7 separate regions of the Homo sapiens genome follow, and regions 2, 3, 4, 5, 6 and 7 are each linked to region 1. The links are contacts of gene promoters, found by promoter capture Hi-C in blood cells and fetal thymus (Javierre and others, 2016). All regions are on one chromosome and are shown on one strand. Each heading gives the region's core, a stretch centred on a gene start or on the middle of the fragment in contact. The rest is flanking DNA. Distances are from core to core; before and after follow the strand shown.

Evidence for each region. Contacts are between HindIII fragments. The CHiCAGO score rates a contact against its expected background, and 5 or more counts as called.
Region 2: a fragment that was not itself captured here is called in contact with the fragment with the promoter of MMADHC in region 1 in 1 of 17 cell types (total B cells); the score reaches 8.8 in total B cells.
Region 3: a contact is called between a fragment that was not itself captured here and the fragment with the promoter of MMADHC in region 1, in 11 of 17 cell types (total B cells, naive B cells, fetal thymus and 8 more). The highest score is 16.1, in total B cells.
Region 4: a contact is called between a fragment that was not itself captured here and the fragment with the promoter of MMADHC in region 1, in 4 of 17 cell types (total B cells, naive CD4 T cells, naive B cells and 1 more). The highest score is 8.3, in total B cells.
Region 5: a contact is called between a fragment that was not itself captured here and the fragment with the promoter of MMADHC in region 1, in 4 of 17 cell types (total CD4 T cells, total B cells, non-activated CD4 T cells and 1 more). The highest score is 6.5, in total CD4 T cells.
Region 6: a fragment that was not itself captured here is called in contact with the fragment with the promoter of MMADHC in region 1 in 7 of 17 cell types (non-activated CD4 T cells, M2 macrophages, M1 macrophages and 4 more); the score reaches 8.2 in non-activated CD4 T cells.
Region 7: a fragment that was not itself captured here is called in contact with the fragment with the promoter of MMADHC in region 1 in 1 of 17 cell types (total B cells); the score reaches 5.9 in total B cells.

The regions. Positions count from the first base shown.
Region 1 is chr2:149,586,136-149,589,657 of GRCh38, forward strand. It overlaps MMADHC (metabolism of cobalamin associated D), which reads right to left and starts at 1,640. Exons shown (of 8, transcript NM_015702.3): 1 at 1,529-1,640; 2 at 954-1,014. The coding sequence starts at 962. It overlaps MMADHC-DT (MMADHC divergent transcript), which reads left to right and starts at 1,223. Exons shown (of 3, transcript NR_110240.1): 1 at 1,223-1,715. RefSeq lists enhancers at 851-2,050, 1,367-1,686. The HindIII fragment of the contact is 5,011 bases long and covers 1,359-3,522 here.
Region 2 is chr2:147,854,637-147,858,158 of GRCh38, forward strand. All of the region lies in intron 1 of ACVR2A (activin A receptor type 2A), which reads left to right. Among named protein-coding and RNA genes, the nearest start is that of ACVR2A, 11 kb to the left of the region's middle. The HindIII fragment of the contact is 1,088 bases long and covers 1,283-2,370 here.
Region 3 is chr2:151,301,613-151,305,134 of GRCh38, forward strand. It overlaps LOC107985827 (a long non-coding RNA gene), which reads right to left. Exons shown (of 3, transcript XR_001739220.1): 3 at 2,109-2,196. Among named protein-coding and RNA genes, the nearest start is that of NMI, 14 kb to the left of the region's middle. The HindIII fragment of the contact is 9,466 bases long and covers 1-3,522 here.
Region 4 is chr2:147,928,775-147,932,296 of GRCh38, forward strand. ACVR2A (activin A receptor type 2A) reads left to right here. Exons shown (of 11, transcript NM_001616.5): 11 at 1-2,048. ORC4 (origin recognition complex subunit 4) reads right to left here. Exons shown (of 14, transcript NM_181741.4): 14 at 1,622-3,522. Among named protein-coding and RNA genes, the nearest start is that of ACVR2A, 86 kb to the left of the region's middle. The HindIII fragment of the contact is 328 bases long and covers 1,608-1,935 here.
Region 5 is chr2:147,948,134-147,951,655 of GRCh38, forward strand. ORC4 (origin recognition complex subunit 4) reads right to left here. Exons shown (of 14, transcript NM_181741.4): 9 at 1-91. Among named protein-coding and RNA genes, the nearest start is that of ORC4, 71 kb to the right of the region's middle. The HindIII fragment of the contact is 4,488 bases long and covers 1-3,522 here.
Region 6 is chr2:151,209,053-151,212,574 of GRCh38, forward strand. No RefSeq gene overlaps it. Among named protein-coding and RNA genes, the nearest start is that of RBM43, 51 kb to the right of the region's middle. The HindIII fragment of the contact is 4,587 bases long and covers 1-3,522 here.
Region 7 is chr2:147,967,818-147,971,339 of GRCh38, forward strand. All of the region lies in intron 4 of ORC4 (origin recognition complex subunit 4), which reads right to left. Among named protein-coding and RNA genes, the nearest start is that of ORC4, 51 kb to the right of the region's middle. The HindIII fragment of the contact is 2,410 bases long and covers 495-2,904 here.

The DNA.
Region 1 (3,522 bases), core at 390-2,889:
GAAATAGCATCCTGGCTAAATGCTGCCATATAAATCTTCCTAGCACACAGCTCTAAGTGAATAATCACAATTTAAAGAATGAAGTCTAAATTACTGAGTTCGGCATTCAAGGCTCTCATTTACTTGGTACCAACCTCACAATTCAACCTTATCTCCCACTTATCTCTTTCATGCAGCTTACATTCAGGTTGGCAGGCAGCAGTCACTTTTCAGTTTTTCAAAGGGGTAGGCGGGTTGGGGAGTTCTTTGAATATACCTTCCTGTCCTTCCCGCTCATATTTTAGACTATACAAATCCCACCTATCTTTCAAACCTCAAGTTAAATGTTTCCCTCATGAAGTGATCCCAAACTCCTCTCCACAAAGACTTGAATCTGCATTGCACCTTCGTGTAGGTTCTAAAAAAAATTATTACTTTATACTTTAATTGTAGCTGTTTTTATATATGTCTTATGACCGCTACATATGAATTCTATAGATAGGATGTGTCTAATCACTGCAAAGTTACAGTCAATAAATATCTCTGGTGTGTGAGAGTATCTCCTATTCTTATTTTGTAGGATTTAGAAGGTCACTTCCAATATGGAAACTGTTTTAAAAAAAAGAAAAAAAGATTAAAAAAACCCTTCAGTTTAGCTAACCCAAAAGCTAAAAAAGGGCCTAAACATAGATTCTAATATTTACTGAAACGCTGTATTTAAAAAATACCGAAAGGGTGCTTGAATTTCCACATCTGTACAAATGAAATTGTATAAATAAGTGTATTTGCAGTGCAAAGAATGCTACCATCTTCAAAGCATAACATAATTTCACACCACTTGCTTCCCTTGACATTTTTGATACATTATATCTAACACTATACCACCCAATGCCATCATAATTAAACCCGTTCTTTCATTCCTAACATTCCCAAACGAGTTTACTATGCTGATTCTTAAGAGATAATTTACTCACATTGGCCATCTCCGCTGGAGAAGATAGTTCGCAAAATAGCTTTCCTTTGGTAAAGTTATTTCTGGGAAAGAACACAACAAAACAGACGAGTGATCGATTAAACTCTAACAACAGACAACTGAGGTAACGTCCACTCTTCGAAGGTGTGTCGTCCACCACGTCAGGACCAAAGTCCAAGCTCTCCCCGTACCCTAAGGAGGCCAGAACTCGCCCCCATGCCAGGCACAGATCCCCCAGCCCGGAGCCGGCAGTGCAGCTCAGAGCCCTTCCGGTTTACAGCCGCGGAAAAACAACTCGGACCAGATCCGGGAGGGGAATGGGGGCTGGGTGGCCAAAATTCAGTCCAGAGGATCGAAGCGGCTGCTTTAACAGAAGTTGGGGCTGCGTAACAACAGCTCCAAGCAAAGCTTCAGGCTGATCGGAAAGATGAGGAAGCAGAAAAGAGACTAAAGACAGACGGACAGGATGGCTGGGGACAACGACAGGGACCCAGTGAAAATACGGGCAATACCGAGGGCTGTAACCCTAACACGGGCAAATTTGGAGGGGCTAACATGGGCGGAAACCATCCGTACCAGTCACCACCACTGTCTCCAGCTGTCCCAGAACCGGACTCTTCCTGCCATCAAAATGGCGGCGGCGACGGCAGCGGTGGTAGCACCTACGCTGGCGGTGAGCAGGCAAAGGAAGTTGCTTCCGAGCGCGTCGAAACGATGATGCGCACGCGCAAAGTAGGCCTACGTGGAGCCGACCTGCCATTGGGTAAACGCAAGGGAGGAGAAAAGGTGGGGCAGGGGTGATTTGGGTGGATGGATAGGAGGGCTTCCGACCTGCGTTAGGCGGGTCAGTTAATCTTCAGTAACTCCTTGATGCGTTTGATAGTCCTCCCAACTTAAGCCTTCCTTACTGCCTCCAGGAGATACAGTCTTCTGTTCTTTTTGTCATAGTTGTTTATTTTTCATGAATCGCTGTTTTTGAGCATAGGGCACTTACCTCTTTCTGTGTCCCCAGCCCTACCACAGTGCCAGGCTCTCAATATGCTCGATAAATATTAGGCGATTGATTTGTAAATCGTGTATCATTTTCATGTATCTAATACTTTTTTAAAAATTGATTAAAGCCCATAAGCCCATATTTTATTCCAGATGTCCTTAGTTTTCGACCTGGTATTCTTTTCCATTCCAGGATCCTGTCCGGAGTACATCACCATGTCTTCCAGGCTCCTCTGGACCGTGACCGTTTCTCAAACTTTCCTTGTTTTTGATAACCTTAATAGTTTTGAAGCGACTTATTGGTCATTTGGTCAAATGTCCTTCAATTGGGTTTTGCCTGTATTTTTCTCATGCATTAACTGAGGTTATGGGTTTTTCTTGAGTTAAGAGGTAAGGTAAAGTGATCTTCTCATCACATCACATCAAGGGTATATACTATCAACATGACTTATTACTGTTGATGCTAACCTTTATCACCATTATTACAGTGTCATACAGAAAAGTTTTATAGTTCTACAAAGATCCCCTTTGTTTCATCTAGTAAGCCCTTCCACCTCCCTATGTAGGGTTTGTCAGGTTTCTCCACTGTGAAGTTACTGTTTTTCTTTTCCTCTCCATACTATACTATTTGGAAGGACATCTCTCTGTGCAGCCCAAACTATAGGAATGGGAAATTGTTATACTCCACCTTTATGAGGACAGAATATCTTCATGAATTATTTGGAATTCTTCTGCATGGGAGATTTGTCTGTACTGCATTTATTTATGTATTCAATCATTTATGTCAGTATGGACTCATGGATATTTATTTTACATTTTGGGTTATAATCCAATACTACTTTATTTTGTTGTTCATATTGGTTCCAGCTTTGGCTATTGAGATTTCCTTTAGTTGGCATTTGTGTCTTTTTGACAAACCCTCCTCGTTTTATGTTTATTGATTTTTTTTCTTGAGCATTTTCTTAATTTCTATAAGTTGCTCCAGGCTCATCTTGTATATTCCCTGCCCCAATCCTAGAATCAGCTGCTTCCCCAAAAAGCCAAGGGTACTTTTAATGGAAAATGATATTAGAAATCAAGATTTGGACATTTGGGATGTTGTTGCTTCTAGACACTCTCAGCTGACAGAGCAAGGAAATATTTGTGGATATGCTAACCTGACTAAATACGCATATCTGTAAGTATTTATATATGTATCCATCTGTATCTTTGACAGCTACACAGGCGTTCTAGGTTCAAATACTAGAGCTGTTATCTTCAGTTCAATTCCAGCACCATATGGATCATTGCAGCCTTCTCCCCTTGCTTGTCTGTAGCCTTCCACTCCAGTGTGAGACACCTGGCTCTCATCATCTGCCATCCATTTACCTAATTGTTCAATTCCAGGTTACGTGTATAATGGATTCAGAACCGTCAACCCGTATTCAGAGTACATGTATAGTTGTTTCTGAACTGTTATCAGGTATACCTGTGAGAAACAGATTTACCAATTAGAGTACAATGCTTATGTATAGTTCTTTTGCTTTTAATCTTATAGATTCCACTTATTTTCAAAGTTACTGAAGTCAGCAGCCCTC
Region 2 (3,522 bases), core at 577-3,076, 1.7 Mb before region 1:
ATTCATTCACTTAACAAATCAATATTGAACTACATGCTAGACACTATGGTAAGTGCTTGGGATACATTATTAAACATGAAGACAGATATGATTATGCCTTTCTGAAGCTTATAGTCATAAAGTAAGTAGTCAAATGAACAACATAATTACAGATTGTCATACGTGCTCGGACAGAAACTAACAGGGTGCCGAGAGGATTACTCTTTATTTGCCTTATCACATATCACATCTGTTTACTTTATCTGCCTATTTCTTTTTTTTTTGAGACTGAGTCTCGCTCTGTTGGCCAGGCTGGAGTGCAGTGGTGCAATCTTGGCTTACCACAACCCCAGCCTTCCAGTTCAAGTGATTCTCCTGCCTCAGCCTCCTGAGTAACTGGGACTACAGGCATGCGCCACCATGCCTGGCTAATTTTTGTATTTTTGGTAGAGAGGGGGTTTAACCATGTTGGGCAGGCTGGTCTCGAACTCCTGTCTCAAGTGATCTGCCCTCCTTGGCCTCCCAAAGTGCTGGGATTACAGGTGTGAGCCACCGCGCCTGGCCTATTTCTTATTTGTCCTTTCTAATATTAGAATGTAAGCTCTACTGGGGTGGGGAAGGGTGTGACTTTTTCTTAATACTTCCAATGCATGGCACAGTTTCTGGCACAGAGGCGAAGCTCAGTGAATATTTAACTAGCTGCCTGAAGCAATGAATGCAGTGATGGGACTGGAGAGATAGGGACAGGATCATGCAGGTCTTTGATGTAACAGGGGAAGGAGTTAGAATAAAATGCAAATGGCAGTGTGAAGCAAAGAGTTTTAAGGAAGAGCAGATCTGGGTTATGTGTTGAGATCACTTTGGCAGCTATCTGAAAAACATACTGGAAGAGTGTAGGAGGGAAGAGGTGAGACCATTAGGAACCTGTTGCATCAGTGTAAGCTAGAGAGACTCTCCTAGATCCCTTCCAGCTTTGAACATTCTCTGATTGTATTGTAAAGCTTGCCTACACTTATCAGTCTTCCTTTTGTATCTTATTTTAGTCATCTTATTTTTTTTCCTACTTGTCATTGCTTAAAAAAAAAACATGAATGGATAGGCTTCTTGTGCATATGTGAACTTTGAATACAAATTCTCAGAAAAAAGAAATAATGAAACGCAGACTAGAGGTTATTGAATTTTTGTAACAAATTTCTATCTTTAGATTTTGTACATTTGCTAATTTATATATATTCTTATTTAAGCATTCCTATTTCTCTCTGAAATTGGCTTTACTCCTTTTCAGGTGTCTATTTTTTTCATAAGCTTACCACCTCTTTATTGTTTCAGATGTAATATACTATATTGTTGGTATGGTTGAAGATTCAGAAGTAGAAACTCAGTGTATTTTATATCTTAATTCTTAGAAATTTGATATCTTTTCAGGTTATCAAGGTCTTACAATAAAGGCTGAAAGGATGAATACTTAATACTTTAGGCTATTAGTTTTACTCAGGGCTGCAGCCTCTAACTCTAGGTATTCAGCTTGAATGTTTTTATCTGGAAAGATTTCAATCCTCTCCTGTTGGTGGTAAAGAGGTGGTGCTTGGCACAGGGAAATAAGCTCTTTATTATGGCAGAAGTTCAGCTGTAGCATCTGTGCCTAGGAAAAACTGCATTATTACACACAGGTAAAACCAGAAGAGATGTTAAACTTTACTGAATTTAAAAAATATAATGGTGCCTGCCTCTTTTCATCTGGTTTCACTTGGATTTTTTCATTTTGGAAGCAGATAAAGCTAACCATCTTTGATAAGCCACCTTCTATAAAGTTCAGTTTTACCCTATAAATACTATAGGTCATTTTATTTATTATTACCTTAAGTAAAATAGTTCTAGAAGAAGAACTGGATGCTAGGCCTTTCTTTTACCTGGTAGTGGAGTTTCATACTTCAGGATTAGTGAATACAGTTTGCTAATTAATTTTATATAACCTAAGACTCAAAATGAACTTGTAATAATTACTAAAATTATATGAGGAGAAATGAAAAGTCAATGAGTAAATGAGGACGATGATAAATAATGAATAATTGCAAGATAACATATACAAGACGGATATGGTAATAGTAAAGCAATTTGATTAGTGGGCATTCAAAGTAGAATAAAACACCTTTCTGAATGGCCAGAAAAATGGTTGAATAGCCACTGACCATCTTTTTAATTCTATATTATATAACAAATCTTTCTTGGTAATCTTTACTTATTTTCCTCCTCAGTTCTTTAGAGATACATATACTTGGTTTGGGTGTTGAATTAGGAAATTAATTGCTAATTGTAGTTTTTGTTAAAATGTAAATAGAGATTGCTTATTAGCTGAGAGGGTTAGAAATAATAGAGGAAATTAAATTAGCAAGCTTTTACTGCTGGGAGGGCCTAACAAACTGTCAGGTACTATTTTCTCCAGTAACTACCTTTATCGGAATGATGCTTAGGAAGAATAAACTACTCAAGCTGATCCTCACTTCTGAAGGATGGAGTAAAAGTAAAAGGTTAGGGTCAGAGAAGAAGGGTGGTTATACTTTATTTTCCTTTTGAATCATTGAAGAGTAGTTTTGACTTTTTACCTGCAGATCTTATTTTTCACTATTGTATCCCTAGAATATCCCCACATCAAGAACTGTAGTTTCTAGTTAGTCTAGCAACATATATTTAGCAGTCCTCAATTAGACAGTATTTTTGTAATTAATATCTAGCCTTGCATCTGTGATGGAAGGAAATCAGCTCACTAAGCCAGAGCACAGAAGAGTAGAGGAGCCTACTCTGTTATAGATAATAGAACCATTGAAACGTTATTTGTCAGTTAGGGCTGGTTAATAGAAATAAAAGCTCATTTTGTTGGTACATATGTAGCCGTTTGTTGGCAAGAATGGTTTTCTTTAAAAAAAAAAAAAAAAAAACAAAAAAACCCCTAACACTTGCTTTATCTTCAGATTCAATGAAAGTAATTAATTATGCAGATCTTTGGGTTGATATAGTAGAAAGAGCAAACATTCTGCCAGGAGAAAACCTGGGTGTTGTGCCTGTCTACCACAGTATGGAATATCATGTGAACTTGGGAAAATTTCATTACCTTAGTTTCTATTTTATAGTACCTACCTCAAAGATTTGAGTAAGGATCAGAGGCTACACACACAAGCCCAAGCATACTCACATAAACATATATACATGCGACTTAAAAAAAAAATTATTTTAAGTTCAGGAGTACACCTGCAGGTTTGTTACATAGGTAAACTTGTGTCATGGGGGTTTGTTTTATGGATTATTTTATCACCCAGGTATTAAGCCTAGTACTCATTAGTTATTTTTCCTGATCCTCTCCCTCCTCCCTCCCATAGGCCCCAGTGTTCCCCTCTATGTGTCCATGTCTTCCCATCATTTAGCTTTCACTTGTGAGAACTTGTGGTATTTGGTTTTCTGTTCTGTGTTAGTTTGCTAAGCATAATGGCCTTCCAGCTCCATCCATGTCCCTGCGAAGGACGTGCTCTCGTTTGCTTTTATGGCCAT
Region 3 (3,522 bases), core at 308-2,807, 1.7 Mb after region 1:
CTCCTGGGAGTCCACGGAACCTAGGTTAAGGGCTCTAGTTTAAATGAAATTTTACAGAGCTAAAATATTAACCTAAAGAATTATCTTTAGAAATAAGCCGGGCACAGAAAGACAAATATTGCAGGTTCTCACTCATACATGGAGCTAAAAGCGTTGATCTCACAGGGGTAGAGAGTGGAATGGTAGTTACCACAGGCTGAGAAGAGTGTGGCAGGGATGGAAAGAGGTTAGTTAATGGGTACAAATATACAGTTAGATAGAAAAAATAAGTTCTAATGTTCTATAGCAGAATAGGTGACTACAGTTAACATTGTATTGTATATTTCAAATTAGCTAGAAGAGAGGACTTGAAATGTTCCCAGTACAAAGAAATACAAATAAATAAATACTGGAAAGAAATGTTCTCAGTACAAAAATATAAATACCCTAAATACCCTGACTTGATTATTATACATTCTATGCCTGTAACAAAATATATGAACCCTATAAAAAGGTACAAATATTATATATCAATTAGAAATTTTTAAATTAACTTTAATGTTATTCTAGTAGTCCAGTAAGGAAGCAACTTTAGGGAAGCCCATACTTTATTAGCCCTAGATCATTGCATCTATGTGGCCATCTCCTAGCCTTTAGGTGGGAGGCAGAAAGCAGCAGGGCGTGCATGCTAGCTGTGATGGTCCCATCTCCTGGAATATTGTGCTGCTGACTGAGGATTTCAGATAAAGCCTGCTCATTACCAGTTGTACCCACAGATGTCAAATAACAAGTGCCAGTAACAATCTGGCATGGGACTGTCTTCAACTGGTTGAATTAATTAATAACTACTACATACCAAAATATGAAGAGTGTGATTCATGTCCAACTGGGAGGAAAAAAGGACACACGAAAAGGCAAGAACAACTTTGTCACAGACGGGACATTTTTCATCAGGGAAAGGAACTTTTTTACATAAACTAAAGTGTAGACATGAGGTATAAAATAGTGAGATCATCGCCACCAAAACTCCGTGTGGAACTGACTCCCACTGAGTTACACACCCCAGGCAAAGAGATGGGACTTTCATCAACTCCCAGGACTAGTTAATAAGCCTCCTTGCAATAAACTTCTTTTTGGAAAAAAAAGATAACTCATTTACAAGGGAACCCCCCTGCTGTGGTACAGACATAAACGTCTAGAAAAATTACACTTTCTTATATTTCATTCAGATTAGCTTCACTTTTTGGGAAAAAAAGTAGAAAATCTTTTATATGCTATTAATCTTTAGATCTGTTTCTGCTGTCTGAAACTTTTTCTTGGGGCACACTGCTATGACAAAAAAATTAGATATGGTTACTGAAGAAAACCCTAGGAAAAAAATAAGAAAAATATTGTTCAGTGAGGGCTAATTAAGATTACAGCCAACCTATGCTTTTATGAGCATAAACCAAAGTAACATTACTGGGAGATACACAGAAAGAATCACGTTTTCCTGAGAAATCTCTTAAGAAATTACATCAGTTCTCTGGACACATGGAGGAGAGGGGGTGTGCCATTGTGGAGGCTGTGACTCAGCGGCAACCTGATTTTTCATCTGCTTTGACAACAGTGATAACATAAAATGTGTCTGGAAAGGGAAAATTCATTCTCTCTACATCATTCTGCATAGCACCATGCTCTGCACCACATGTGGTGAGGTCCTTACCAGAAATACTGAAAATACAGGGGGGCTTGCAAGGTGTAGGAGAAACGTCTTCCCTGGTCTTCTTTTGCAGCTAATTTACAACATGGCCTCAAAACCAAGCCACCGGAAGGAGGTAGTTGGGGTAAGGAGGGTGAGTTGTGAAGGGAAGATGGGAGGCAGAGTCTCTTGTCCATCTTCTGCTGTTTCTTTTTTTTTTTTTTGAGATGGAGTCTCACTCTGTCACCCAGGCTGGAGTACAGCGGCACAATCTCGGCTCACTGCAACCTCTGCCTCCCAGGTTCAAGCGATTCTCCTGCCTCAGCCTCCTGAGTAGCTGGAACTATAGGCACGCGCCACCACGCCCAGGTAGTTTTTGTATTTTTAGTAGAGATGGGGGTTTCACCATGTTGGCCAGGATGGTCTTGATCTCTTGACCTCATGATCTGCCCACCTTGGCTTCCCAAAGTGCTGAGATTACAGGCGTGAGCCACCGCGTCCAGTATCTTCTGCTGTTTCTTGACTTGTGGAAATGCCTGCATGTGTGTGAAAAGCACAACTTCTCTGTAAGAGTCTATCTTGGTTATTAAGCCCAGAGTCTAAGTAGTGTCAAGCCCATTGATTTACAAATTATATCACTCTGTCCACCCAAAGGCCACCTGGCCATTGTGATATAGAGTAGCTACCAAAGCAACTAAGGTGGTGTTTTCCAAAAAGAGTGACCTGTGAATACTTGTTGAATAAGGTAATATTAACCTACTTGTGGCCTTGATCTTACCCTTCTTCCTATTTAACCACAGCCCTGGCCCTAAGATACCCTGATCCCTGAAAGAACAGCAGCTATGTCTGAGAATAAAAAGCATCTCAAAGAATTCTAGGCTGTCAAACAAAATCAGGAAATGTTGGGAAACTTTTAAGTGATACAGTGGTGACTTTTGCAGGCCCAAAAGAAGTCTGTGGCCTTAATGGATCTATGGGCTACAGGATTCTTATCAAAATAATTTTAGTTAGATGAGTCAATAAATAAAATGTGCCATATAGATGCAATGGAGTATTATTTGGCCTTAAAAAGGAAGGAAAGTCTGGTATAGAATAGATTATGTATGAACCTTGAGGACATTATGCTAAGTGAAATAAGTCATCTACAAAAGGACAAGTATTGTGTGGTTCCATTTATATAAGGAACCTAGAATAATCCAATTTACAGAGGAAATAGAATGGTGGTTGCCAGGGGATGAGGGAAGGAGTGAATGGGGAGTTATTGTTTAATGAGCATAGAGTTTCAGTTTGTTTGTTTTTTGTTTGTTTTTGTTTTTATTTTTGTTTTTTGAGACAAAGTCTTGCTCTTGTCCCCCAGGCTGGAGTGCAACGGCGCCATCTCGGCTCACTGCAACCTCCACCTCCTGGGTTCAAGCGATTCTCCTGTCTCAGCCTCCCAAGTAGCTGGGATTACAGGCGCCTGCCACCAGACCCAGCTAATTTTTTTTGTATGTTCAGTAGAGACGGGGTTTCACCATGTTGGCCAGGCTGGTCTCGAACTCCTGACCTCAGGTGATCTGCCCACCTCAGCCTCCCAAAGTGCTGGGATTACAGGCGTGAGCCACAGCATTCGGCCAAGTTTCAGTTTTGCAAAATGAAAAGAGTTCTGGAGATGGATGGTAGTGATGGTTGTTCAACAATGTGAATGTACTTAATACCACTGAAATGTACACTTAAAAATGGTTGATGATAAATTTTGTTATGTGTATTTTACCATAATTAAAAAATAAAAAGTAAAAATTGTAGTGAGTCCTATTTGCATGCAAGTCTTTGTATACTATTGTAAGACGATGTAGGTAAAACTAGTCCCTGTCTTTATGGAG
Region 4 (3,522 bases), core at 522-3,021, 1.7 Mb before region 1:
AATTGGATTCTTCCTCAAATTTATACAGGCCAAAAAGTAAAACATTAATTTTCTGAATTTCCAGATTACCAATCAATTAATCAACAAATAGCCAGTATTATGCTGTGTATTTCTGTCAGGTCATTTTAAAATCCATGTTAATTTTATAAAAGAATTTTTTACATGTCACTGTCAGGAGCTCACTGTGAATGTGTTGTCTTCAAATGGTTATTTAACCACACAGTACACTACATTTTACATATATGTACGTAATCTCTGGGAATAGTAAATTAATTATGTTATTTATAAACAATACATAGGTCAACAGACTTTAAGCAGGGAGGAAAAGAAGAGTAATAGCGTCTGTGTGCTGCAGACCATTCAGAACTGTCACGTGTGTCCCCATGGTCTCATTCATTGTATTCCTAGCAATTCCCTTTTCAATGTTGAGTTCACCTCTTTATTTCACAAAGTACTTGGTCTCTCAATTTCTTGATCTGGTTTTGCTTCCATTTAAAAACTAATCAAGAAGGGAAAATATTGAGAATGTGCATACAAGAAAATCATTAATTTCCTGAAGATGAATTTCTACCTGTTGTGAACATTTAACTTTCTTTTTAAAAGTTAAACAAAAATAAACAAGGGATATTATGATGAATGTTTGGCTTATGTGAGTACTAGAGATAAAATTTTTAAACCCAGTTATTCACAATATAAAATGTTTTCAAGTTAGAAAAAATTTTTAGAAATCCTGGGTATTGTATTTAACTGTAGCTAACCAATTTTAAAACTTGTATTCTTTTGAGAACTATTATTAATAGAAAAACTTTTTATAAGCAGTAAAATAAGAATGTTCCAGTGACTACCTGTCCTTATACCTAGTCTTGTTAAAACTTTCTTTTGCAGGGTATTTAGTGTTTGGTTTACAGTCAGTGCAGAGTGGGCAAGTTAACAGAAAGTTTGAGCTAGAGATACTGGAAAAAAAAAAGATCAAAGAATGAGAAAAATGGTGATCCATTTTGGGGCAAACTGAGACCCCCCAAATAACTCTTTCCTCATGTGTATGGTGCTCCTCATGACTCGTCTTGTATTTTGCCTTTCTGATACCCATCAGAACTGCTGCTGCTCTAACTTATACTCTTTACCTTGCCCAGATCTCCGCGTAAGGAATGCTTTATGATCAACTTGCCATAGGACTGATGGATTAACCAGTGTTCGGCTTTATTTGAAGTCTATGCCCTGCACAGCTCTTGTATGTATTTTAGATGCTAGAAGTTTTTTTAGCATGTGATGTGTGATTCTTGTTTGAATTCTAGGTACCTTGTGAATTCCAGAAAAAGAGACTGTGCTTCACGATTGTTAGTCCCATGAACTTGCACTATCTATCTTTCATGGTGATGTTTTGAAAATACAATCAGGAAAAAACCCAACACCTTTGGAATTTAAAATAGAATCATATCATGAAATTTAAAAAGAATCTCTTCTGTTGCATTTCCTCACCCCTAAGTAACAGCTACATTTAAGTAAAATGCAGGTGGTAGGGGAAAAAAAACCATGGCGAGATGGTGGTTTAGTGGAATAAACTGATTACTGGTTTTTTTGTTTTTTTTTTTTTTTTTAAAGAAAGAAGCTTCATCACAGATACTTTCCAGTTTCTCTTTTATACTTTTTTGAAAGATTACTTTTTAGGAACATTTGGTATGATATGCATAAAATTATTTATCCATTTATGGGCAAAATGATACAAGTAGCATCTTGATTGAACATCATTTACCTCAGATATTCAACCAGCAGTACGTTTTTTATGCAGTCTCAACCCATATCCCATTTGTTACCTCTCAGAATATTGGTAAGCAGTTATTTTCGCTTTACTCTGTATTTCTTGTGTTTTGGGCACAGGTTATTGTACTACTGTCAAATCGTACTTGCTATTTTTTCTGCAAGTATTTAACAGAAAGCTTAAAATCCCCATAAAACCCCACCTTGGATAAGTGATTGTTAAATATTGTACAAATAAAATGTATGCTATCCCCATTCCATCCCCAAGTTAAATAAAAAAATGAATACGGTATGATTTGCATATGCAGTTTTTCTTTAGCTATGTTTTTTTTTTTTTTTATACTTTAAGTTTTAGGGTACATGTGCACATTGTGCAGGTTAGTTACATAGGTATACATGTGCCATGCTGGTGCGCTGCACCCACTAACTCGTCATCTAGCATTAGGTATATCTCCTAATGCTATCCCTCCCCCATCCCCCCACCCCACAACAGTCCCCAGAGTGTGATATTCCCCTTCCTGTGTCCATGTGATCTCATTGTTCAATTCCCACCTATGAGTGAGAATATGCGGTGTTTGGTTTTTTGTTCTTGTGATAGTTTACTGAGAATGATGATTTCCAATTTCATCCATGTCCCTACAAAGGACATGAACTCATCATTTTTTATGGCTGCATAGTATTCCATGGTGTATATGTGCCACGTTTTCTTAATCCAGTCTATCATTGTTGGACATTTGGGTTGGTTCCAAGTCTTTGCTATTGTGAATAATGCCACAATAAACATACGTGTGCATGTGTCTTTATAGCAGCATGATTTATAGTCCTTTGGGTATATACCCAGTAATGGGATGGCTGGGTCAAATGGTGTTTCCAGTTCTAGATCCCTGAGGAATCGCCACACTGACTTCCACAATGGTTGAACTAGTTTACAGTCCCACCAACAGTGTGAAAGTGTTCCTATTTCTCCACATCCTCTCCAGCACCTGTTGTTTCCTGACTTTTTAATGATTGCCATTCTAACTGGATAAAATACTGGCAAAACGAATCCAGCAGCACATCAAAAAGCTTATCCACCATGATCAAGTGGGCTTCATCCCTGGGATGCAAGGCTGGTTCAATATACGCAAATCAATGAATGTAATCCAGCATATAAACAGAGCCAAAGACAAAAAACACATGATTATCTCAATAGATGCAGAAAAAGCCTTTGACAAAATTCAACAACCCTTCATGCTAAAAACTCTCAATAAATTAGGGATTGATGGGGTGTATTTCAAAATAATAAGAGCTATCTATGACAAACCCACAGCCAATATCATACTGAATGGGCAAAAACTGGAAGCATTCCCTTTGAAAACTGGCACAAGACAGGGATGCCCTCTCTCACCACTCGTATTCAACATAGTGTTGGAAGTTCTGGCCAGGGCAATTAGGCAGGAGAAGGAAATAAAGGGTATTCAATTAGGAAAAGAGGAAGTCAAATTGTCCGTTTGCAGACGACATGATTGTATATCTAGAAAACCCCATCGTCTCAGCCCAAAATCTCCTTAAGCTGATAAGCAACTTCAGCAAAGTCTCAGGATACAAAATCAATGTACAAAAATCACAAGCATTCTTATACACCAACAACAGACAAACAGAGAGCCAAATCATGAGTGAACTCCCATTCACAATTGCTTCAAAGAGAATAAAATACCTAGGAATCCAACTTACAAGGGATGTGAAGGACCTCTTCAAGGAGAACTACAAGCTACTGCTCAAGGA
Region 5 (3,522 bases), core at 692-3,191, 1.6 Mb before region 1:
CATACTGTGGAAAACCAAATGAATTCATTAAGTGTATCTGCCGGTGAGAAAATCTTGACTTCACTCTTTTTTCTAAGAGTTCCAAAATATCCTTAAAAACAAACAGAAATCTCTATAAGGAAGATGAATGTTTTTAAAAAAACAAAAACACTGTACCAATGTTAGAGGTATAAGTAAACTATCACCTATAATTAGTAATGTTTAGTCTACAATACATAATTAAACATTTAAAACATTTTATGCAAACTAAATAATCCACCTCCAGGCATTTGCTGGCTTGGTGATGTCATGCCTTTTTCCCACCATGTTACTCTCAGCTAATCTGTAACATTCCAAGACCCAACATGACTGTTTAAAAAAACTGACAATATTGAATAGCTATATGTCACAATAACACCAAGAGTGTCAATAAGGAATTCTGTACATTCTATGAAGAACTGAGATTAAAAAATTAATAGCATGATAGGCAGCAGGAACCAACTTTAGGAGAGGAAAGTGGCAGAAATGCAACATGGCATTCGTAAGTTATCTTCCGGCTTTTTTTTTTTTATAGTAATGCTTTTAGACTCTATTTGTATTTGTGCTATTTTTCCTTAAAAAGAAATCAGGAATCAAATTTACTGTCAAAGAACACTAAAAACCAAAGGATAACTAATATGTACTGCTTGTAAGGACATACGAAGTGTTCTTAAATGAAGAAAATACTTCCACAAAACTGATAGGCATTCAAACTATCCAAGACATCAAAAGCACAATAGGTAAGCTGTCTTCCTAAGTCACATATATTGCAGGAACTGTCATTCCTAAATCTCTTTTTAATAATGAACTTGAGCAATTTTTCAAAATATATTATAGTACACAGCATATTATATATAATATATATAATTTATATTATATATGTATATATACATCTATATATATACAGTATAGTATAATATATATTTATTACTTAAGTTACACTCCAAGGTATACAACCAAGACAAATGAAACCAGATAACCACAAAAAAAGTGTATGTGAATGTTTGCAGCAGTATTATTTTTAATAGCTTAAGAAATATAAACAACCCAAATGTCCATCAACTGATGAATGGATAAACAAAGTGTGGTATATCTACACAACAGAATATTATTTGGTAATAAAAAGGAATAAAGGGCTGATATATGCTGTAACACAGATCAACTCTGAAAACATGTTAAAGAAGCCAGTCACACAAAACTATACGTTGTATGATTCAAAAATTACTAAACAGTCAGAAAGTGGATTAGCAGATTAGTGGTTGCATAGGGCTGGGGAGGGAACAGGGGATTTGGGGTGATCACTAAAAGGTACGTGGCTCTTAAACTGTGGTGATAAATGCACAACTCTATGAATAAACAAAAACCCTGTTAATTGTATAATTTAAATGAGTGAGTTGTATGGTATAAATTACATCTCAATAAAGCTGTTTTAAAAACAGTGACATGATATTTGATGACTTTAAGGAATTACAGCTAATATAACAATTATATTAGGGAAATATATTTTTAAAGAGCTCTTATCTCCTAAAAATACATTCTAAAATACTTACTGATAAAATGATATAATACCTAGTTTTTGCCTCAAAATAATACAGGAATGAAAGGAGATGTTGAGGATAAATAAAATTAGTCTGTAGTAATTGAATCTTGGCAATGAGTGGAGAAGGGAATTCAGGGCTCATTATTTATTCTTTCCTATGTATATTGTTGAAATGTTATAAAGATTTTTAAAAGGGGAGTAGTTTAAGCCCAGAAATATACATCTCCACATCTAGCCAGATGACTCTCATAATACCTACGTGAAGAAATCATGATATAGAGGAAAGAATTCAAGTGATCAAAATGGGATCATGGTTAGTTTGGGAAGGTGGACAGGAAAGACTAATAGCCTGAGGTAGGAGGTGGGAGGGTGAATAAAAAATTTTGAATGTTTTTATGAGGTCAAAGAAAAGTATAGTGCCAGCATGAGAACTAAAAGACAAGAAAGGTTATATTCAGAGATTCAGATATTGTACATTTATTTTCTATTAAGAAAGAGTTCTAGGTCACCCATATAGGTAGACAGTGGAAGTAATAATCTATACAAGCAACAATTCAGACCCTAAATTTGGGAATGAAAAGAGATGGAAGTAAATACTGTCTTTGTAGTAGGCAGTAATGACAGAAGTTGGCAATGTGGGCATACAGGAACTAGTAAAAACAAAACAAAACCAAAAAACAAAAATGGAATTACTCCCAATGGGGAAGAAGATGCTTGCTGGCAAAGTCACTACTCCCTCTATACTTTTGTTCTCTCCCTATAAACGTGGATACACAGATAAAATTATACTTGAGGCCAGGCGCAGTGGCTCACGCCTGTAATCCCAGCACTTTGGGAGGCCAAGGGGGGTAGATCACGAGGTCAGGAGTTCGAGAGCAGCCTGGGCAACATGGTGAAACCCCATCTCTACTAAACATACAAAAATTAGCCAGGCATGGCGGTGTGTGGCTGTAATCCCAGCTACTCGGGAGGCTAAGGCAGGAGAATTGCTTGAACCCCGAAGGTGGAGGTTGCAGTGAGCCGAGATTATGCCATTGTACTCCAGCCTGGGCGACAGAGCAAGACTCCATCTCAAAAAAAAAAAAAAAGAAAAAGAAAAAAAATTACACTTGAAAGAACTACACAGTTGGAGAATTATATATATACAATAAAAAAGAACATCTGATAACACTGCTAAGAAGTTACTGGCATTTTATTTGGTCCGTTATTGGGTCAACAACACTCACCACAGCCACTTCCACCCAAAGGAAGATTTTTTTTTTTTTGGCAAGAAGGAGGATGCTTCTTTGATCCTTGTCATCGCCTGCTGCTTTTGGCAAGGAGGAATAAAGATATGTGGAGCACCAGCCAGTGATGTATGAGGGATGTTTATACTAAAGCCATGTATCATAAGCTCTAGAGCACAGGAAAGGAGGGGCAAATGACAGTCACTCTATAGAGAAACAGCACTGGAAGGAGGACTGTTGAAATATGAATTAGAAAAAAGTTTCACTTTTCTGAAAAAGAAAAAGGGTTGTAGGAAAGGAGATGTGAACATGTAAATGTGCCTGACACATCTGCCGAGAATGGAGGGGGAAGAGGATTGCAAGAAAGCTATGGAGGCATGGCAGTCATAGCATGAGAAAAGAGACAACTTTGCTATGGTTTGGATATGGTTTGTCCCCACCAAATCTCATGTTGAAATTTAATTGCCAGTGCAACAGTGGGAAGTCACTGGAGTGGACCCTCATAAATAGATTTAATGCCTTCTTACTGGAGTGAGTTCTTGTTCTCATGGGGATAGATTAGTTCTTGAGACAGTGAGTTGTTATAAATTGAGGTTCCAACTCCTATCTGGTTCGTTTTTGCACATTTCGGTTCCCCATTTGACCTTCCACCATGTCATGCAGCATGAAAACCCTTGCAACAAAGCCAGTGCCATGCGCTTGAATTTTTCAGCCTGCAGAACTGTGAGATAAATAAAC
Region 6 (3,522 bases), core at 324-2,823, 1.6 Mb after region 1:
GGTCAGGAGTTCCAGACCAGCCTGGCCAACATGGTGAAACCCCATCTCTACTAAAAATACACACATCTGTCAGGTATGGTGGCTCATGCTTGTAATCCCAGCTACTTGGGAGGCTGAGGCAGGAGAATCACTTGAACCCAGAGAAAGTATTTAATAAATGTACCATTAATTTTGAATTTTAAAAAATCTTATTAATAGAAGAATAGAAGAAAATTACTTAAATTTGATAAATTGCTTCTACCAGCAACCCTCAGGAAACTTCATACTTAATGATGAAAGCTAACATTCTCATTAAAGTTAGGAATAACTTTAATGCTATCATTAATACTCTTTCACATTGTTTCTGTTTAACCTGTCCAAGCTAAATGACTTGTTATGAGTCTTTGTTTTCAGCACTTAGTCATTTACACAGATACACAGTCTACATCATGAGGATCACAAGTAGAAAAATTAGAAAGATCAAACAAAAACCAGGTGCTGTGGCTCACGCCTGTAATCCCAGCACTTTGAGAGGCCGAAGCAGGTGGATCACCTGAGGTCGGGAGTTCGAGACCAGCCAGACCAACGTGGATAAACCCCATGTCTACTAAAAATACAAAATTAGCCAGGCATTGTGGCGCATGCCTGTAATCCCAGCTACTCAGGAGGCTGAGGGGAGAACTGCTTGAACCCGGGAGGCAACGGCTGCAGTGAGCTGAGATCACGCCACTGCACTCCAGCCTGGGCAACAAGAGTGAAACTCCATCTCAAAAAAAAAAGTTCAAACAACAAATGGATTTTTTAAAGAGATATTCAAAATGTAATATCCAAATCTTTTAAGGATTTTTGTTGTTGTTTTTATTATTATTATTATGATACTTTAAGTTCTAGGGTACATGTGCACAACGTGCAGGTTTGTTACATATGTATATATGTGCCATGTTGGTTTGCTGCACCCATCAACTCGTCATTTACATTAGGTATTTCTCCTAATGCTATCTCTCCCCCAGCACCTCACCCCCCGACAGGCCCCGTGTGTGATGTTCCCCGACCTGTGTCCACGTGTTCTTGTTGTTCAACTCCCACCTGTGAGTGAGAACATGCGGTATTTGGTTTTCTGTCCTTGTGATAGTTTGCTTAGAACGATGGTTTCCAGCTTCATCAGATTGGTTTTTTTGTAAGGCTGCCTAAGAAGCTCTGTCTACTCTAAATATAATTCTCTGCTGTAGTCATTTAGAAATTAAATAAAATACATTTTCTTACATACATTGCTTGATGGGAATATAAGTGCAATGACAATCAGTAGAGTAAAAAGCATGTTAATGCCTCAGGTTCCATAGCAGCTTGGTTAACTACGGCGTAAATTCATCTCTCCAGACCTAATTCAGGAGAAATGTCGTTACAGTAACTGAACAGATCGTAAGCTCCACAGGCGCCATGCTTTCCGCGGAACAGTTTTCATTGCTAACAGAGAATGCTGACTGCATTTATTTTAATAAAAGTCTGTGGCTTGTGTACAAGTAGAAGAGTATTTTTTCACTACATTAATTTTATATGTTTTAGAATCTAGACTAAAGGCTATAAATTAGAGGAAAGACGACTAGAATATCCTGGGTCTCTGTGACATAGCACCTTTGAAATAAGTATTACAAAAAGAAAGTACAGCAAAATAAATACGGTAATATTGGATTATAACCCAAAGTATAAGACAAACACCCATGAGTCAATGCTAGTATAAATAAGTGAGTGAATAAATAAATAGGGAGAGAAAAGATAAATCTACCATGCAGAAGAATTCCAAACAATTTGTATGGCTATTCCACCCTCAGGGAAGTGGAGCCTAACTCCCAACTTCAAGTGTAGGCTGCACATCGTGACTTCCAACAAGTACAGCAAGCAAACGGGGGAAAGAGTAACTTGACAGTGGAGAAACCTGATAAACACACCTAAGCGAGGTGCTCCTGGTAAACGTCAAGAGTGATAAGTCATGTGGATAGCATGCGCCCTTAATAGGATGTGATGAGACTGGCACTTTACCTCCTCAAAACCCATAATCCCAGCCTAATCATCAGAAAAACATCAGGCAAATCTCAGTTGAGGGGCATTCTACAAAATGCCTGACCAGTACTCCTTGAAATTGTCAGGGTCATCAAAAACAAGGAAAGTTTGTGAAACTGTCATAATCAGGAGGAGCCTAAGGAGTTGTGATGTCTAAGTGTAATGTGGTCTCCTGGATGGGAAACTGGAGCAGAAAAAGGACTTTAGGTAAAAACTCAGGAAATGTGAATAAAGCATGGACTTTAGTTCATAATGATGTATCCATACTGGTTCCTATATTGTGACAAACATGCTATACTAATGTAAAATGTTGATAATAGGGCAAACTGGGCATGGACTAATGAGAACTCTGTACTGTCTTCACACTGTTTTGTAAATCTGAAACTATTCCACAATTAAAATGTATTTAAAGATAACAAAAAGGAAATACAGATAAATGAGCTGATGTATTTTTTTTTTGTTTTTTGTTTTCTGTTTTTGAGATGCAGTCTCACTGTTTTGCCCAGGCTGGAGTGCAGTGTCATGATCTCAGCTCACTGCAACCTCCACCTCCTAGGTTCAAGCAATTCTCCTGCCTCAGCCTCCTGAGTAGCTGTGATTACAGGCACGCACCACCATGCCCGGCTAAGTTTTATATTTTTAGTAGAGACAGAGTTTCACCATGTTGGCCAAGCTGGTCTGGAACTCCTAACCTCAAGTGGTCCACCTGCCTCAGCCTCCCAAAGTGCTGTGATTACAGGCATGAGCCACTGTGCCGGGCCTGAACTGACGTTATTTCTGCAATGCTACTCAGCAAACAAAGTGATAAAGTAGAGCCTTGACACTTACAAATTTAATAGTCATTGGATACCTTGATTAATAAATTAGCTGGGCAAATAATTTTAAATTGGAGATCATTTTCTATTATAATTTTGAAGACATTTCTCCATTATCTTAGAGTTTCCAGCATTGCTGTTGCAATATTGATGCCATTCTAACTTTGAATTCTTTTTTATCTCTCTTTGTAAAAAAAACATAAAATAAAATTGGTAGAGTTCCCTTATTGTCCCTGGTGTCCTGAGATTTCATCATGCTGCACCATTGTGCAGTGAATGAGGTGGACCCTTCAACCAAGAAATTCATGTGCTTCAGTTCTGCATAATTTTTGTAATTATTTTGTTGATGAATTCCTCTCCTCTATTTTATCTGTTTTCTCTTTGTAAAATTCCTATTATTTTGGATTTTAGGTTTCCTGACGTTGTGCTCTAATTTTCTTATCTTTTTTCTCTCATTTTTCATCCTTTTTCTCTTTTTTCCACTTTCTGAGAAATTATTCAGCTTTACATTTCAACCATTCTTTCAGGTTTTCCCAACAACTCTTTGTTTTTGTTTTTACTGATCTTTTTGTTACAATTATTCTATTCTTGCTTCCTGTATGGAATCTCCTATTCTCTGAGGTTTTGTTTTGTTTTTGTTTTTGTTTTCAGATAGAGTCCCTTCTGTTGC
Region 7 (3,522 bases), core at 450-2,949, 1.6 Mb before region 1:
AACAAAAGATGCCAAATCGCTAAAGCAATCTTGAGCACAAGGAATAAGGCTGGAGTCAACATACTGCCTTACTTCAAATATACTACAAAGCTGTAGTAACCAAAACAGCATGGTACTGGCATAAAAACAGACATGTAGACCAATAGAACAGAATAGAGAACCCAGAAATTAATCTGCTTATCAACAGCCAACTGATTTTTACAAAGGCCAAGAACACTCACTCATCAGGGAAAGGGCAATTTCTTCAATAAATGGTGCTGAGAAAACTGGATATGCAGAAGAATTAAACTAGATTCCCATCTCTCATCCTGTACAAAAATCATTTCATAATAGATCAAAGACCTCAATGTTAAGACCTGAAACTATAAAACTACTAGAAGAAAACATAGGGGTAATACTTCAGGACACTAGTCTAGGAAAATATCTTATGAATAAAAACTGCAAATCACAGACAACATAAAAAAATAGACAAATCTGCTAACATCAAACTCAAAAGCTTCTGCATAGCAAGGGAAACAATCAACAGCATGAAAAGACAATCTACAGAATAAATGAAAATATCTGCAAAGTATTCATCTCATAGGGATTCATATCCAGATTACACAAGGAACTCCAGTATCTCAAAAGCAAAAAACCAATTTGCTTAAAAAACAGGCAAATTATCTGAACAGACATTTCTGAAAGGACATACATATAGCCAACGAATACATGAAGAAATGCTTAACATCATCAATCATCAGGGAAATGCAAATAGAAACCACAGTGAGGTATCATCTCACTCCAGTTAGGATGTCTATTTTCAGAAAAACAAAAAATAATAAATGCTGGTGAAGATGCAAAAAAAAGGAACTTTTATACACCATTGGTGGGAATGTAAACTAGCCAATATTGAAAACAGTACAAAGGTTCCCCAAAAACCACTACAAATAGAACTACCATATGGTCCAGCAATCACACTACTGAGAATTTATATAAAGGAACGGAAATCATTACATCAGAGAGACATCTGCAGCCCGTATTTATTGTTGTACTATTCACAATAGCCATGATATGGATCAACCTAGTTGTCCAACAACAGATGAATGGATAAAGAATATGTGTATATACACACAATGGAATACTGTTCAGCCATTAAAAAAAGAAATGAAATTCTGTCATTCACAGCAACATAGATGGAACTGGAAGAAGTTATATTAAATGAAATAAGCCAGGAAAAGAAAGTTAAACACCATGCGTTTTCACTCATCTATGGAAGCCAAGAAAAGTAGGTCTTACAGAAGTCAAAAGTAGAAGAGAGGATAGGGTAGGAAGGGTAGGAGGAAAGGAGGGATAGTGAGAGATTCAATAATGAACACAAAATTACAGCAAGATAGGAGGAGTAAGTAACAGTGTTGTACTATCATTTTTCTGTAACTATAGGATGACTATAATTAACAATAATATTTTCCAATAGCTAGAAGAAGGATACTGGATGTTCCCCACATAAATAAATGATAAATGTTTGAGATGATTGATATGCTAATTATTCTGATTTGATCACTATACACTATATGCATCAAAACATCACTATATATCCCATGAAAGTGTATAATTATTATGAGTCAATTTAAAAATAAAGTATAAAAAGGTTAATTACTACCTAAAATGACTATTTTATGAAATAAATGTTTTGAGCTATTTAAGCCAGACTTAGACAAGAAGAAAAGATTCTTAGAAAACTGAAATGCAATATCAGATTAGAAGAAGCAAATGACAGCACTGGCAGTAAAGAAAATCACATTGGCCATATGACAGAATGCTGAGAGAGGGGGAAAAAACATGAAAAAGATGGTAGACATGGAAAAATGAAAACAAAGATTTAAGAACTGAATATTCTAATATTGGATATTCATTTTTTCTAATCATAAGAAAAAATGAAAGAATATTCAAAAATAAAAGAATATTATTCTTTAGTGAACAATACCCTCTAAATTTATACTAAATCAGTATGCAGAGTATTAGTGAATTTTATGATTAACTGTTAGACATAGTCTATGAATAACTAATGCAATAAAAGAAGAAAAGGAATAGAAGTATGGAGATAGGGAAGGAATAATTAAAACTGTCTTTGTTGACAGATAACATAACTGTCTAAGTAAAAAAATCTCAAAGAACTGACAAAAAAACTAATGGAATTGAGAAGCAATTATAGCAAGGTTGCAGAATACAAGCAAATATAGAAAAGCCAAGTGTTTAGCTATCTACTAGCAATGAAGACTTAGAAAAGGAAATAAAAAACACAGTACTATTCGCACTAGAACCAAAAAAATGAAAAATTAGGTATAAATCTAACGAAACATGTGTAAGATCTTTATTAAGAAAACTACAAAAACTGACAAAAGTCTTAAATAAATAGATACTCCAAGAACGGGAAGACTAAATATAGTTAAGATGTCCATTCTTCCTATTGTGATGTATAAATTTAACTCAAAATCTAGCAATTCACAAAGATTCCCAGAATTTTCTGGATATGTACAAAGTGATTCTAAAGTTAATATGAAAAGGCAAAGTATGCAGACAGCCAACACAATACTGCAGAAGAACGAGGTCAGAAGACTGACAGTACTTACCTTAAAGACTCACTAAAAATCTACAGTAATCAAAACAATGTGATATTGGCAAAAGACAGACAAAGCAAGGGAATAGAAAGAGAACCTAAAAACAGAACCACATAAACATAGTCAACTGATCTTTGACAAAGAAGCAAAGGCAATTCAATGGATAAAAGATAGTCTTTCTCCAATTGGGCATTCATTTGCAAAAAAAAAAAAGAAAAAAAAACGAATCTAAACACAGACCTTACATCTTTCACAAAAATTAACTCAAAATGAATCACAGACCTATATATAAAATGCAAAACTATAAAGCTTGTAGAAGATACATAGGAAAAAATCTACATGACTTTCGGTTTGGTGATGAAGCTTCAGATACAATACCAAAATCATAATACATGATAGAAAAAACTGACAAATTAGATTATTAAGATCAAAGACTTCAGTTGGGCACAGTGGCTCATGTCTGTAATCCCAGCACTTTGGAAAGCTAAGGCAGGATTGCTTGAGCTCAGGGTTCAGGACCAGCCTGGGAAACATGGGGAGACCTCGTCTCTACACAAAATTAAAAAAAAAAAATTAGCCAGGTGTGATGGTGCATGCTTGCAGTCCCATGTACTCAGGAGGCTGAGGTGGGAGGACTGCTTGAGCACAAGAGGCCAAGGCTACAGTGAGCTGTGATCATGCCACTGCACTCCGGCCTGGGTGAAAGAGCAAGACCCTATTCTTGTAAGTAAGTAAGTAAAATAAATAAATAAAAACTACTCTACCAAAGATACAGTTAATAGTATGAAAAGACATAGCAACATCCCATCTCAAAAATAAATAAATAAATAAATGAAATCTTCTGCTCTGCCAAAGACAATGTTATTATTAATAGTATGAAAAGAATAATATTCTTTTAATATTATGAAATAATATTAATAGTATG